Regions from separate parts of the Homo sapiens genome. Here region 2 is linked to region 1. Evidence: promoter capture Hi-C in human tissues and cell types (Jung and others, 2019). All regions are on one chromosome and are shown on one strand. The core of a region is centred on a gene start or on the middle of the fragment in contact, and the rest is flanking DNA. Distances in the headings are between cores, read along the strand shown. Region 1 holds the start of C3orf20 (chromosome 3 open reading frame 20). Region 2 overlaps RBSN (rabenosyn, RAB effector).

The links. The method cuts DNA at HindIII sites, captures the fragments that hold promoters and counts their contacts. A contact is called where the count stands out against the background at its distance.
Region 2: a fragment that was not itself captured here is called in contact with the fragment with the promoter of C3orf20 in region 1 in 1 of the 25 tissues and cell types used here (spleen).

The regions. Positions count from the first base shown.
Region 1 is chr3:14,670,417-14,677,215 of GRCh38, forward strand. C3orf20 (chromosome 3 open reading frame 20) reads left to right here and starts at 4,725. Exons shown (of 17, transcript NM_032137.5): 1 at 4,725-4,836. CCDC174 (coiled-coil domain containing 174) reads left to right here. Exons shown (of 11, transcript NM_016474.5): 11 at 480-2,239. The coding sequence ends at 778. RefSeq lists enhancers at 568-1,767, 1,702-1,911, 3,237-3,286. The HindIII fragment of the contact is 10,656 bases long and covers 1-6,799 here.
Region 2 is chr3:15,076,606-15,083,798 of GRCh38, forward strand. RBSN (rabenosyn, RAB effector) reads right to left here. Exons shown (of 14, transcript NM_022340.4): 9 at 5,762-6,003; 10 at 4,127-4,197; 11 at 1,470-1,556; 12 at 457-559. Among named protein-coding and RNA genes, the nearest start is that of MRPS25, 15 kb to the left of the region's middle. The HindIII fragment of the contact is 8,610 bases long and covers 988-7,193 here.

The sequences.
Region 1 (6,799 bases), core at 3,475-5,974:
TATGGTTTATGCCTCTTTGAAAAAGATCATTTCAGTAGAACATTAGCCCATGCTGTCTGAGCTGATAAGATCCAAAGCTAAAGTAAGAGAAATGCAAGAGCCACTGTTAGAAATAGAGATGAAATACCAGACAAGGTTGGACAGTTCCCTTTTGTGTCTTCCAAAACTCAATAACGGACAAAATTTGTATTTTGGTATGAAATACCTACAATGTCATGTCAAGCAGATAATTTGTCTGTATTTCTCTTTTTCTGTATTTCCCCATCTAGAGATAGTCACTCCCTTTTCTTAGCCTGGTCTTTTATACTCGTTGTAGGTATTACTTATACCTTGTAATATAGTTTTGCTGTTGCCATTCTTATTCTTTGGATAATTTGTGGTGGCTTTTAAGAAATATATGATACAATTAGATAATAGTAACAATAAATTCAACTGATTCGTTAATCAGTTCTAATAACTTTCTTTCTTATTTTTACCAGAATTTTCCTTTGGATACTGGTCGAAGAGGCAGTCAGATCTCCGGGCTGAGAGAGATCCTGAGTTTGCCCCGCCGTCAGATTACTTTGTGGGTCAGAAGAGAACTGGTTTTTCCAGCAGCCAGGCATGGAGCAGACCTGGGCCAGCACAGAGTGACCCAGGGCAGTGCCCTGACCAGAGCCACGGACCTAGCCCTGAACATACGTCACCCACTCCTGCCCCCGACAACCCACCACAAGCCCCCACAGTTACTTTCAAAACTCTGGATGACATGATTTCCTATTACAAACAAGTGACATGATCTTTCAAAGCACGCTGACTTGGGTTTGTACTTTGACAGTGCCTTTCTCTCCCAGAGGGAGAAATAACTTTAGGAACTGAATTGTACCTTTGTCCTGTCCTTTCCCTAGGAGGCACAGACTTCGGGTTGGATTTGTCAGCAAGGAGGAAAGTTATGGAAACTTTGGCCACTTGGCTGTTCATTTTATTCTAAGTGGGATAGGGACATACCTACCTGGATTTACATGTGAGCTGCGATAGAATAGAAGTATTTATTCTGTAAAATTAGACACTGAGATGTGCTTATAACCCTGTTTCATATCTACTCCCACGACTTACTCATATTTAAGGGTTCTTTTCCATTCCTTTTGCAAATCCGAGCATGCAGGTGTCTTTATTCCAAGGGTTCAGCTTCCAGATCAGCCGATGGACCATAGGTCACGAGGAATTTCTCCCTGTCAAGCAGTGGAAAACTGCATGGGAGGCAAAATGCTCTGTTCTCCAAGAGGACCCGGAAGTAATCACATAGGAAATGATAAGGAAGACCAGGAGGAGCTCTTCGTAGTCCAGAAAGGTAGAAGTGGGAGTTGTTTACTTAATTTTACTGTCATACCATGCTATTACCTACACTCCTGTGTGCAGTGGGCATTCAGTAAATGTGTGTTGAAGGACTGGGACGTACGTGGAGGCTGCTGGACCTGGTCAGAGACTGATGTGCCTTAGCGGCAATGGTTAGAGCTTTTCAGTGCATCCCACCTCCCTGTCGCCCCCATGCTCGGCTTCCTCACATTCAGGAGCCTGACTTGGATCAGACTTGGGGCTGCACAGTGGAGCAGGTGGGTTCCCGTGTCATTAGTAATAAGGAGAGGGTTGGGGGTGGGCAGGGCTCCAGAAAGTCAGCAGTGTGCCTGGGCACCCACCCCATCCTCTACCTGCCACACCTCAGAGGGTTCCTACAGCTGCACACAAGCAGTTGAGAGTTGATGACCAGGCCCATAGGGCTCCCACAGCTGGTTCCCAGGCCAGTGAGTGCTGTGAGAATACAGTAGCACAAGTCCTTGTTCTCTGAAGAGTGGGAAGGAGAGGAGTGAGTGAAGTAGCCTGTCCCCTGCAGGTCCTCTGCGATGGCATTGTCTCGGTTCCCGCAGTGCTGCAGTGTGGAAGGGAGTGCCCCATCCTCATTACAGATGACACACTGGAGTGTGGAGGGGTCGATGACTTGTGCAGGGTCATATGGTACCTAAGGGGCAGATCTCAGACTTAAACACAATTGATGTCTAACCCCTAGACAGTCTTTTTAGTGCCCTCTGCTCTCAGTCTTGTTGCCCTAGTATCAAGCAATCTTAGACAAACATCCTGAATTCTTACAAACTTACCTCTAAACTCTGAGGATAAAGTTGCCAGTCCTTTTAATGGTCAGCCTAATCATTCTGTCAGCCTAATCGGGTAATTGCTTTTTTTAATAAATACACATAAAAACCAACTAACCCAGCTGCCTTTTTTGCAGAAATTGACAAGCTAATCTTAAAATTCACATGGAAATGCAAGGAACCCAGAATAGTCAAAACAATCTAGAGAAAAAACAAAGAGGACTCACACTTCCTGATTTCAAGATTGACCACAAAGCTACGATAATCTACACAGTGTGGTAGTGGCATAAGAATAGACACATAGATCAGTGGAATAGAGGCGAGAGTCCAGAAATAAAACATATATCCGTGGTCAATTGATTTTTGACAGTGGTGCCAGGACCATCCAGTGGGGAAAGAGCAGTCTTTTCAACAAATGGTTCTGGGACAAGTGAATATTCCATGCAAAAGAATGGGTTTGGACTTCTGCCTCACACCACATACAAAAAATCAACTCACGATGAATCAAAGACCTAAATGTAAGAGCTAAAACTACAAAACCTACTGAAACAGCTTGTAGGATAAAGAGGGAGGAGACAAAAAGAAAAATTGGAATACTAAAAAGAAAAATAGAATTATTAGACATGCTAGAATCATAGGAAAAATAGAAAAAAGAAAGGGTAGAAAGAAAACAGCTGGGCACGGTGGCTCACGCCTGTAATCCCAGCACTTTGGGAGGCCAAGGCGGGCGGATCACGAGGTCAGGAGATCGAGACCATCCTGGCTAACACGGTGAAACCCTGTCTCTACTAAAAATACAAAAAATTAGCCAGGCGTGGTGGCAGGTGCCTGTGGTCCCAGCTACTCAGGAGGCTGAGGCAGGAGAATGGCATGAACCCAGGAGGCGGAGCTTGCAGTAAGCCAAGATCGCGCCACTGCACTCTAGCCTGGGCAACAAGAGCAAGGCTGTGTCTCAAAAAAAAAAAAAAAAACAATGAATAGACAAAGAAAGATGGAAAGAGGATGTGTGTGTAACCCAGAGCAGAAGGACTTGAGGCTGACTGTGGAGTAGAAAGGAGAAGGGAGACAGAGACAAGGCAGGCAGCAGGAAGAGCTGTAGGTGTGGGAGCCAGCATCACAAAGGGTCCATCCCAGGTGACCACATCCATGCCTGCAGCACCCGGGTGGACGGCGAAGCAGTTATGCTCGTTGGCTCATGGTCACTGTTATCTGAAGATAACTGTGAGTCACATTTTCTCTGGGATTTCAAAAACTAAATAAACCTATTTATAATCCCCTCTTAACAGTATAATTTAGTTCAGTGTTTTGTGAGCCCTTTTCTGTTTCAGATCCAGTTCTTTGAGTATTGACACACCATCACAGTCTTACTGTGACACGGGCCTGTCTTGTACCAGTGTATCCAGCAGATGGCATTAGAATTCTTAAATGTCAGCTCCATACTCTTAAAACAGCACACTCCAACAGAAATAAAAAATAAATCTGTGGCGCATGCCTGTAATCCCAGCTACTTGGGAGGCTGAGGCAGGAGAATCGCTGGAGCCTGGGAGGTGGAGGTTGCCGTGAGCTGAGATTGCGCCATTGCACTTCAGCCTGGGCAACGAGTGAAACTCCGTCTCAAAATTAAAAAAAAAAAAATAAGCCCAGAGTGTCATTTTCAATTTTCTAGCAACCATATTTAAAAAGTGAAATTATAACATATTTTATTTAACTCAGCATATCCAAAATATTTCAATATGTACTCAATATATGCAAATTATTAGTGAGATCTAAAATTATTCTTCACACTAAGAATTCAAAACTCACTGTGTATCTGGTTATAGCATAATTTGGATGCTAACGTTTCATCAGGAATACTTGATCTGTATTTAGATTTTGTAAAATATGCAGTTGAAAAACACAAATTCATATCCAAGTTGTTCCAAAGATAGTTAAACATAGTAAAGTTTTTCAGTAACTGAATTGAACATCAAGTTTGAAAAAATAAAACCCAGTTCCTTAGTCATGCTAACCTTATTTCAGGTGCTCAAAGGGCCCATGCATCTAGTGCTGCTGTCCTGGACAGAGCGGCTCTAAGTGATCTGCTTTTACACGCTTTATGGTCCGACTATACATAATCCTCCCATTAGTAACTAAAGTATTGGCCAATAAATTTTTCCCAGGCATACATTAAACATTCACAATACTCTGTGGCCATGTTTAACTTGGGAGCAAGTAGTGGCAAAACCTCCTATACAAAAACGTGACCACACCTCATTCATGCCTTTGTAGAGCTAAGCAAAATGCTTTAGATCAAAAATTGCCTTGAATTATTTACGTTCATTGTAATCTCTCCTCTAGGCCTTTGTGTGTTTTGATAGAGTTCGTTTGAATTGGCTCAATAAATCATTTTATTTGCTGCAGAATTCCCAAAGAACATTCAGATCCATATACATGAGATTCCTGCTGCGTTTAGCCATACATTTGCCAGACTTGTGATGTCGTTTATTCCCTGTGAAAGCTCAAGTGCAGCCCACAGGGAGGTTTTCAGCTGACCTTGTTGTGACATGCAGATGAGGTAGTAGAGTTTAGAATTTGGAACGGGGATGGGTACTGGTCTTTACAGTTAACACAACCTGGAGTAGCCCATGCCATACTGTGTCCTTTTAAGTCAGTAAATTGAACTAAGTCGGTTATTCGGCAAGCAGTTCCTATAAAAAACTACATGGCTAAGGTGAGTGATGATCACTGAAAGGAATTCATTGACCCACTGAAAAAATGAGAGTAGATGAAACTACTGCAGTCATCCTGCCTGCCCCTGTTAGCTGGCTGAGTGAGGTGTTTTGCCCCGGTGGGCTGTGGACATTATCTTCATGTTTAAAGTGTGTGTACTGGGGGCGAGAGGCCAGGAATGATATGATGGGTGTAGGTCATTGTCTAGGAAAACTAGAAAATCCAAATGTTCAAAGGAAGTAAGGTGTTGTAGTGAAAAGCTGTCACCTGGCCTATCGATGTTCTGTTATGGTGTTTCTTAGTAAATCCCAGGCTGCATCTATATAGTCACTCATAGTAAGTGTGTGTTTGTCCAGTGGTAGGAGTGGCCAGAAATATTGCATCTGTTCCACCCTCAATTGAAACAGCTTCTTTCTCCACTGTATTTCTTTTGTTTTTGTTATTTATTTATTTATTTATTTATTTTTGGAGATGGAGTCCCGCTCTGCTGCCTAGGCTGGAGTGCAGTGGCTCACTGCAACCTCCACTCCCCGGGTTCAAGTGATTCTCCTGCCTCAGCCTCCCGAGTAGCTGGGATTACAGGCATGCACCACCACGTCCAGCTAATTTTTGTATTTTTAGTAGAAATGGGGTTTCACCCATGTTGGCCAGGCTGGTCTCGAGCTCCTGACCTCAGATGATCTATCTGCCTCATCCTCCCAAAGTGCTGGGATGACGGGTGTGAGCCACTGCACCCGGCCCTCCACTACATTTCTAATTGCCACATTCTCCCTAAGTCTGAAAGCTCACATGCTTAGTAACAGTTTGGCCAGGTTTTAAGCATTTTCTGTGGGGTGTACTGCATTCCTTCCCCCTCCCCCCCGCCTTTTTTTTTTTGGTCATTATTCCCTGCGGTTGAACAGAGCACCTCCCCGCACCCCACCCCACACCAGCCTCTCCATGCACAGCCATAGTTGTTCACGGTTTTTGAAAATCAAAAAATACAAGAGTGGACCTTGCTCCCAGCCCAGGTCTCCCAGGTTGCAAGTGAGTCTGGTAACTGTGCCACTGTCTTTGCTGGGAACCCAGGTTTTATTGCTTTTCCAAAAATAATCACCTTTTCCTTAAAAAGAAAAGGCTTTGTATCTCTGTGTCCAACTTATGATCTGCACAGGTTTCCATGGAATGTGTAATCAGTGTATACACACCATTTGGTTCTTCTTTCTTTAACATTTCTAAAACCGAGCTTCCTAGTTATTTTTAATTGTTGCCTAATAGTTCATCAGCTTAATGTACATCATTATTTCACTATAGGGAATGAAGTGGCTATAAGCATCTTTTAGTATGGTTTAACAAACATCGATCTTTATACAGATAACTTCCCTGACACTCCTCCCCCCCATTTTGAAACTGTCCCCTGGGGTGCCACTTTCATAAGCAGGAAAACTGGGTCAAAGAGATGGTCAATTTTATGTTTCTTCATGGGTCTTGTCAGGAGACCCATCACAGTAAGGGCCCTTTGATACCACAGTGAATCTCCTTGAGAATCCACTCTAGGATGGCTACCATGAGATTCCAGTGTCACATTAAACCTTGGCTTCTCATGAAGTTAAGCTCAATCTTATGTGCAGTGGCCCCAACTCTGCTCACCTTAAGATCCACTTCTCTCTAGCAGAGCCCTTCTTTCCTTTTCTCTGCCAAGCATCTGTCCAGAATGCTGTTTTATATGCTTAACAGTACAGAGAACAGCATCTATTAATTTTCCTAGGTCCACCTCCATTTCTTTTATGCATCTAGTGAGGGCTGATTCTCAGACCTGTCCTAGCCTAAAGCCATGCCTGCTCACAAATTGCAGTCACGCGCTGACATCTGGACTCGCTGCCCTTATCAGAAGTATTTCTGATTAAAATCAGAGAGCCAGAAACTAGAGAAAATAGCAGAGAACACCGTGACCAGATAACCTGAGGAGGCTTAGTTTGATTGTC
Region 2 (7,193 bases), core at 4,043-6,542, 410 kb after region 1:
TCGGCTGTTTCCTCCCAGCTGATGGCTCAAGAAGAGTCTCTTAGGAGATTATCCTAAGGAAGAAATACTAAGTACCATTATTACTATCATGGCAACACTTAACAGCAGCAAAAAATTAGTCTATCAAATGTCCAACTAAAGGAAAACGGTTAAAGAATGGCATATACAGTCAATATGCAGTATCGTAACTACTGTATATAAAAAATACAAATGGGAAAAAAGAAAACATACCAGAATAATGAGTGATTGTAATGGGGACATAGGATTAAAAGTAGTTTTAGTTTTCTCTGAAATCCAGATTTTTCTCTAAGTGTGGCATCATGCATTCATAATTTCAAAAAATAATAAATGTATAAATAGGAAGTAAACAAGTCATTGGCATGGATCTGCCTCCTGGGAAGCAAAAGAGCAGGACAGGCCAAGTGCAACATTTATGCCAACCCAGGATGGCTTTACCTGCACAAAAAGTGTAGCTGAGTATCTGATCATTCTCTGCAGCCGCAAATTGCTTGGATGTGGTGGAGGGTCCTGGTTCAAGCCCAAGGTTAAGATCTTCTTACTGAATTGGAACAAACACATGAATATAATGAGCACTGCCAGCTTCAGAAACAAGGGTGAAAAGTATAACATCTGGAGTTGCCAGGCTTTCATGCCAGGAAGGTGTGTAAAGATGGACAAGTGACTCCATTGAAGTTTCTTTGAAGGCAAAGCCCATTTCTTACCCTTTGGCTGTACACAGGCCTTAGCAAAGGGCGCACAACACTGTTATGGAGTGACTGACTACACATGCAGAGCCAGCTTCACAGGTGAGCAACCTATGCAACTGGAAAGGACTGGCACTTAAAAGAGCCCTGTGCTTGGTTTAATGCTCTGCTGTTAGTGTCTTTATTCTTAATAACTTTTGAACAGGGGACATGCATTTTCATTTTGTACCAGGCCCTGCAACTACGAACTCCTGCTGTATGTCTGGATGGACAAAGGCACCTCATCTTATTCTCCCTCTGAGTCACTGGCTAATTTAACCCCAATGGCCAGTCCACAGTTAAAAAGCAGCTGTGGACTTGAGCACAGACACAAAGAAAGAACCTGAGTTTCTATCTTCACTCCACAATTTTTGCTATCTGTGACATGATTCCTCACCTTTGACACAGGATGTTAATCCCTACCTCACAGGGTAACTTCAGTAGAATAAATGAGCTATTCTAGAGAAAACAGCCAGTGACTGGCAGGTGATAGGTGTCAATAACCAGCTCCTCTTTCTTTAATAATAGCAAACATTAGAAATCCTTAACGAAACAAAAGTCACTGAGATGCATTAAGTGCCAGAGCTGGCCCCTTCCTTGCCCTCCTCCTCACCCACTGCCCCATCACCAGAAGTCTGAGTGAGTGCAGGTCTGCTTTCGCCATTTCATTAGAACAGCATCTTCTCCATTCCACCAGCGGGCAGGATACCACTTAATGGACCTTACCTTAAAGCGTCTATCAGCTCATACACTTTCTGCACTTCCACTCGAAGGTCACTGGCATGTTCCAGACTGTAGGTTGTCTCCCCAGCACTAAGGAGAAACCAGAGACACGTGACCTAAGTTTCATGGTGCAGATTGGACAGCATAGTGTAGAAGGACGCTAAAGGTGTAAGGCCTCACAAAGGCAGTTAATTCTCTAAAGGTGGCATTTCAGACTTTCAGATATAATGCAGTGTCCATCTCTTGGAATGAATGAATCAAGTGGAAGTGATGTTTCGATTTGCAGACGCAACAGGGACAGATTCATGCCAAGGCCTCCAAGGACTAGCCCTTATGCTCATCACCAAAACAAATGCGGCTGAATTTACTCTGGCCTACTTTTCCTAAACAATTCCACTATATCTAACAAGATGTAAGAAGTGGTTACACTACATTAAGAGCAGAAAGCTACTTGGCTTTTCTCGCTCAAAAGTACCCAAGGAGGTTCGAGACCAGCCTGGCCAACATGATGAAACCCCATCTCTACTGAAAATACAAAAATTAGCCAGGCATCGTGGTGGGTGCCTGTAATCCCAGCTACTCAGGAGGCTGAGGCAGAAGAATTGCTTGAACTGGGAGGCGGAGGTTGCAGTGGGCTAAGGTCGCACCACTGCATTCCAGCCTAGGCGACAGAGCAAAACTCGGTCTCAAAAAAAAAAAAAAAAATACATATATATATATATATATATATATATATATATATATATATATATACATGGTTTTGTTTTAAATATATATATACACATGGTTTTGTTTTTAAAAAAGGCACATCTACTACTACATGCATCGCTTTAAATGTGGCAGATAGGCAACACAGGTTTAAGACAAAGACAGAAAACTCTGAAATTAATAACACTAGATACCATAATTAATTCTTTTCCTACAGGTTGGGAAAACACTGCTGGGATCTGACTCTAGTAGTTAGCACTTTAACTTCTAGGTTACAAACACTAAGCTTCAGAAAAAGCAACGATCTTAAGCAGGGATCAGCAAATTTTTTCCATAAGGAGCCGAATCATAAATGTTTTCAGCTTTGCAGGCCACACAGTCTCTGTTGCTGCTATTCAACTCTGTCATGGTGGTGCAAAAGCAGCCACAAACAGTAATCAAACATGGGCATGGCTGTGTTCCAATAAAACTTTATGCAAACAGGTGGCAATAACTAGTGTTGGTAAGGCTATAAAGAAAGTGAAACCCTCATACACTGCTGGTGGGAATGCAAAATAGTGCAGTCATTCCACAAAACGATTTAGCAATTCCTCTATGGAATGTTACTCTATGGTAATATATAGTTACCATAAAACCCAGCAATTCCACTCCTAGGTACCTACCCGAGAGAAATGAAAACATGTCTACACAAAAAACATAAAAACTTGTACTCAAATATTACAGAAGCATTATTTATAACAGCCAAAAGTGGAAAAAACCCAAATGTTCATCAACTGATGGATAAACAAAATGTGACAAGTATCCATGCAATGCATTCATACAGATGGAATGAAGTACTGATACATGCAACAACATGGATGAATCTGAAAAACAGTACACTGTGTGAAAGAAGCCAGACAAGAGAGATTTTATATTTATGATTCTATTTATATGACATGTCAAAAGCAGACAAATCCATAGAGACAGGAAATAGATTAGTGGTGTCCAGGGAGATGGGGAAAGGGCAGTGGCTGCTAATGGGTATGGGGTTTCCTACTGGGGTGATAAAAATGTTTACAATGAAGACAGTGGTAATGTTCGCTAATTTTGTGAATACGCTAAAAACCACCAAACTGTACACTTTAAAAGGGTAAAGGTTAGGGTGTGTGAACTACATCTCAATTTTAAAAAAGAAGCAGATGTTGGCCAGACACGGTGGCTCACGCCTGTAATCCCAGCACTTTGGGAAGCCAAGGCGGGTGGATCACGAGGTCAAGAGATCAAGACCATCCTGGCCAACATGGTGAAACCCCGTCTCTACTAAAAATATAAAAAAATTAGCTGAGCGTGGTGGTGCGTGCCTGTAGTCCCAGCTACTTGGGAGGCTGAGGCAGGAGAATTGCTTGAACCTGGGAGGTGGAGGTCACAGTGAGCCGAGATCACGCCACTGCACTCCAGCCTGGCAACAGAGTGAGACTCCGTCTCGGAAAAAAAAAAAAAAAAAGCAGATGTCAGGATACATTTGGCCCACGGGCTGCAGTCTGCCAGCCCCTGCTCTAATGGTCATGCCTGCTTTAAGCCCTGACACCTCAATGTGACACTCAAGTGGCATCTACCCAGACATGAGCATGAGACCCACTGCCCTTCCTCTGCTCTGTCCAGATGCTGCACTCAGCAGCAGTACCTATTGTCTGAGGCCCTTCCCAAACCTGCTCAGTCAGAATAGCCAAGGTCAACTGAATGTGGCTGTCTTTCTACAAGCTCATGTGATGGTAGCCTGTACCCCACTAAAAGACAGACATGAAGATGATTCTCTTCATAATAGCCAAAAGTGGAAAAAAACCAACTTCAGCTGGTCTCAGAAAAAAAGCACGGTTGAAGTTAAGATTTTCATTTTTGGCTACTGGAGAATTGACCTAAAATGCCAGAAAACAGTCACCACTGGATTAGAAAAACATAGATGAATAGCTTACTTTAATGATGCTGCCATCCTGATGTATTCTGGAGCTTTCTGGTCAACTTTCTCCATGCAAAGTCGTAATTTCTAAGAACAAAAACAAAGAGGTAAGTGGTATGCTCAAGATATAGAAACACCTACCCAGAAGCTAGGCTCCATCAATGGAGCTATATTTAAAATGTTCACTTTTCTAACACATTAATTGTTGTTATCAATTTCCTGATTTATAGGCATACTTTCCAAGCAGAAAATTTTGTAGGAAGGAAAGAAAGTGAGAATGGAGCTTCTGATCAGATGTTTCGTTTTGTTTTTTTTTGAGAAGGAATTTTGTTCTGTCACCCAAGGTGGAGTACAATGGCGCGATCTCCACTCACTGCAACCTCTGCCTCCTGGGCTCAAGCGATTCTCATGCCTCGGCGTCCTGAGTAGCTGGAATTACAGGCACGCTGCCACCACGCCCGGCTAATTTTTATATTTTTAGTAGAGACGAGGTTTTGCCATGTTGGCCAGGCTGGTCTCGAACTCCTGGCCTCAAATGATCTGCCTGCCCCGGCCTCCCAAAGTGCCCGGCGAGATGTTTTTGAGAGGAGCAAGGCTTCCAGGGCACAAGCCAAGGTGTCTACCAAGACAAAAAGGAATTAGCTGCTACTTTCTTTCTCTGCCAAGTGATGCCAGGCAACAATGGGAAACCAGCACAAGGCATTGCCAGGGCTTACTTCAAAAGAGGAGGTGGCACAAGCACCGTGGGTATTCACAGAAATGAGATACCAGGTCGTGAACTCCACACAAAGGATGGAGAATGCTACATCTGCAACCCAACATGGGGCTTAATTGACACCATTTCTAGTAGCCTGAGTATTTACATAGGGATTCCAGAAACAGTGCCATTATGACCTGCAGAACTACTAACAATGACTATTCAGTGGTCATTAGGCAAAATTACACTCTTCCTCTGTTCAGAATGTTGCACAAGCTGCTTCCTCTGCCTGGGCTGATCTCTTCCCTGCATCTCTTACTGCCTCCCCACCCAGTCCACCTGGCTAGTCTTCCTCAGCTCACAGGTCTCACCTGGCCATTAAGGGACCAAGCCAGTCTCACTCCCAGATATTCTTTGCACACTATTTCCTCTCAGAGTATGCATCTAGTAGGGGGGCTGTGGGATCACTCAAGTAACGACAGCTGAGGCATTTGGACAAACTTAGAAGGGGACACTCAGTAAACTGGTGAAGCCTGAAAACTTGTAGAACTTTCTAAAACTTGTAAAGTCTAACACTCCCAAGTGAGTTTCCCAGGATTCTTCTGGCCCACTGTTTATGAACATCTCTAGCTTCTGCCCTTCCCACAGAACCTGTCTACACCACATGGCAACTGCCCTTCCTCCTATTGCCTCTGGGCCACCAAAGCTTCCACCCACCTGCTTTCAAGTGGCCAAGGAAGGCCACTTGAAACGAGTTTGTTGCAACACACCCAGGATGACTCTGACTCACACAGGGCCCTAGCTGGGAAATCATAACATGGGCCTTTAACAGGAACTACAAATAATTCAAACGAACAACTTCCCAAAGCATTCTCCAGAATCTGCAGGAGTGTACATAACAAACAGCCAAATCTGCCTAAGAAATTAGACCCAAGACCAGACAGCGCGAATCACCTCGTAGAGCTTCACGATGTCAGGTGTGTGCTCCTTCTCATCAATCTGCTGCTCTCTCTTGAGCAGCGTGTCCTTGCAGTGTGTACAGCAGCGGATCCGGTCATCGTCCTTCTCATCCAGGACCGAGCTGACACTGCTCATGCTGCTGATGCTGCCTCGGCGGGAGCCATGGACACTGTTGGGTGACTGGCTGGGGCTGGTGTGGGTGCTCAGGGACTCCTTGCTGGCACTGGTGAGCTTGTCTGTAACCACAACACCAACAGGCAGCAATGACCCCCACAGCATCCAATTACCATACCCACGACCTCAAGGTGTCAGTCCACAGGTGTTTGATTTGGAGAGTAATAAGATCAGGCTCCAGCTGTGGGCACGTACTGCCCCTCTGCCTTCCTGGTGTCAGACTCTGGTGAGAAAGGACTCCACTGCTGCCCCTCCAAATCCAAACAGCCTTCCCTTTCCACCTGCCACTCTCCTGCATTTGCCCTGTGCCTCCAACACAACAAACATTCTCCCAGGAGACTTTCCTCCACAGCCTTCTCCCTATTCCCAAACATCTGGCTCCTACCCTCTCTGAATGGCAGGTCCTCCAGGAAAGCCTTTTCCAATTCCCTGAGGCAAAAACTATCCATCCTTCCCATCAGTTCCCACCACATTGCCCATTTTGGAGCACTTTCCACTCTTCTCCCTGTGTACAGTTGCATGTACACCCCAGAGCTGCCCTAGGAACCTATGACTCTTTGTGGGTACGAACTGTGTCTTACTCACACTTGTACACTTAACATATCCAGCAGGGCCACCCCACAGCAGCTGCCCAGTAAATGCTGGCTAAAGAGCTCAAGAGAAGAAGGGTGAATAGTGTCCCAAAAAGGCAGCTTATAAAATCTCATGTGAGACAGGGAGTTGGTCTCAGGGAGAAAGTATCAAGGTACAGTGACCTGGTATATGTGAGAGTTGGAAAGAAGAAGCATCTGTTTTTGTCCCCACATTATCCAGACACCCCATGGCCAACAGTGTGCACAGTCAGCAGAACTCTCTAGTGTTGCAAATTTACCCCAAACTTCCCAGAAGCCAATGAGATCATCTTCAGCAACTTCTACTCAGCTTGGTTGCAAAGTCCTGGAGGATCGGGTTCCACCTAAACTTTGTCCTCCACACACCCCCAACTATTCTATTTGCTCATCTATTAACCTACCCTGGGCTTTCCAGAATTCCATGCCTTTGCTCCTACTCTTCACTCTACCTAAAATGTCCTCTTTCTCCATCTCTTTTGCAATCCTACTCATCTTTTAAGGCTCTTCTTGAACATCACCTCCCAGCCCTAAGCATGCATGCTCTCACTGTCCCTGAGCCCACAGCACTCAGCATCTCTCATATTATGATATTAGTCTTTTCTATATGGCAGTGAGTTGTCTGTGACTTATCCCACAGGAAG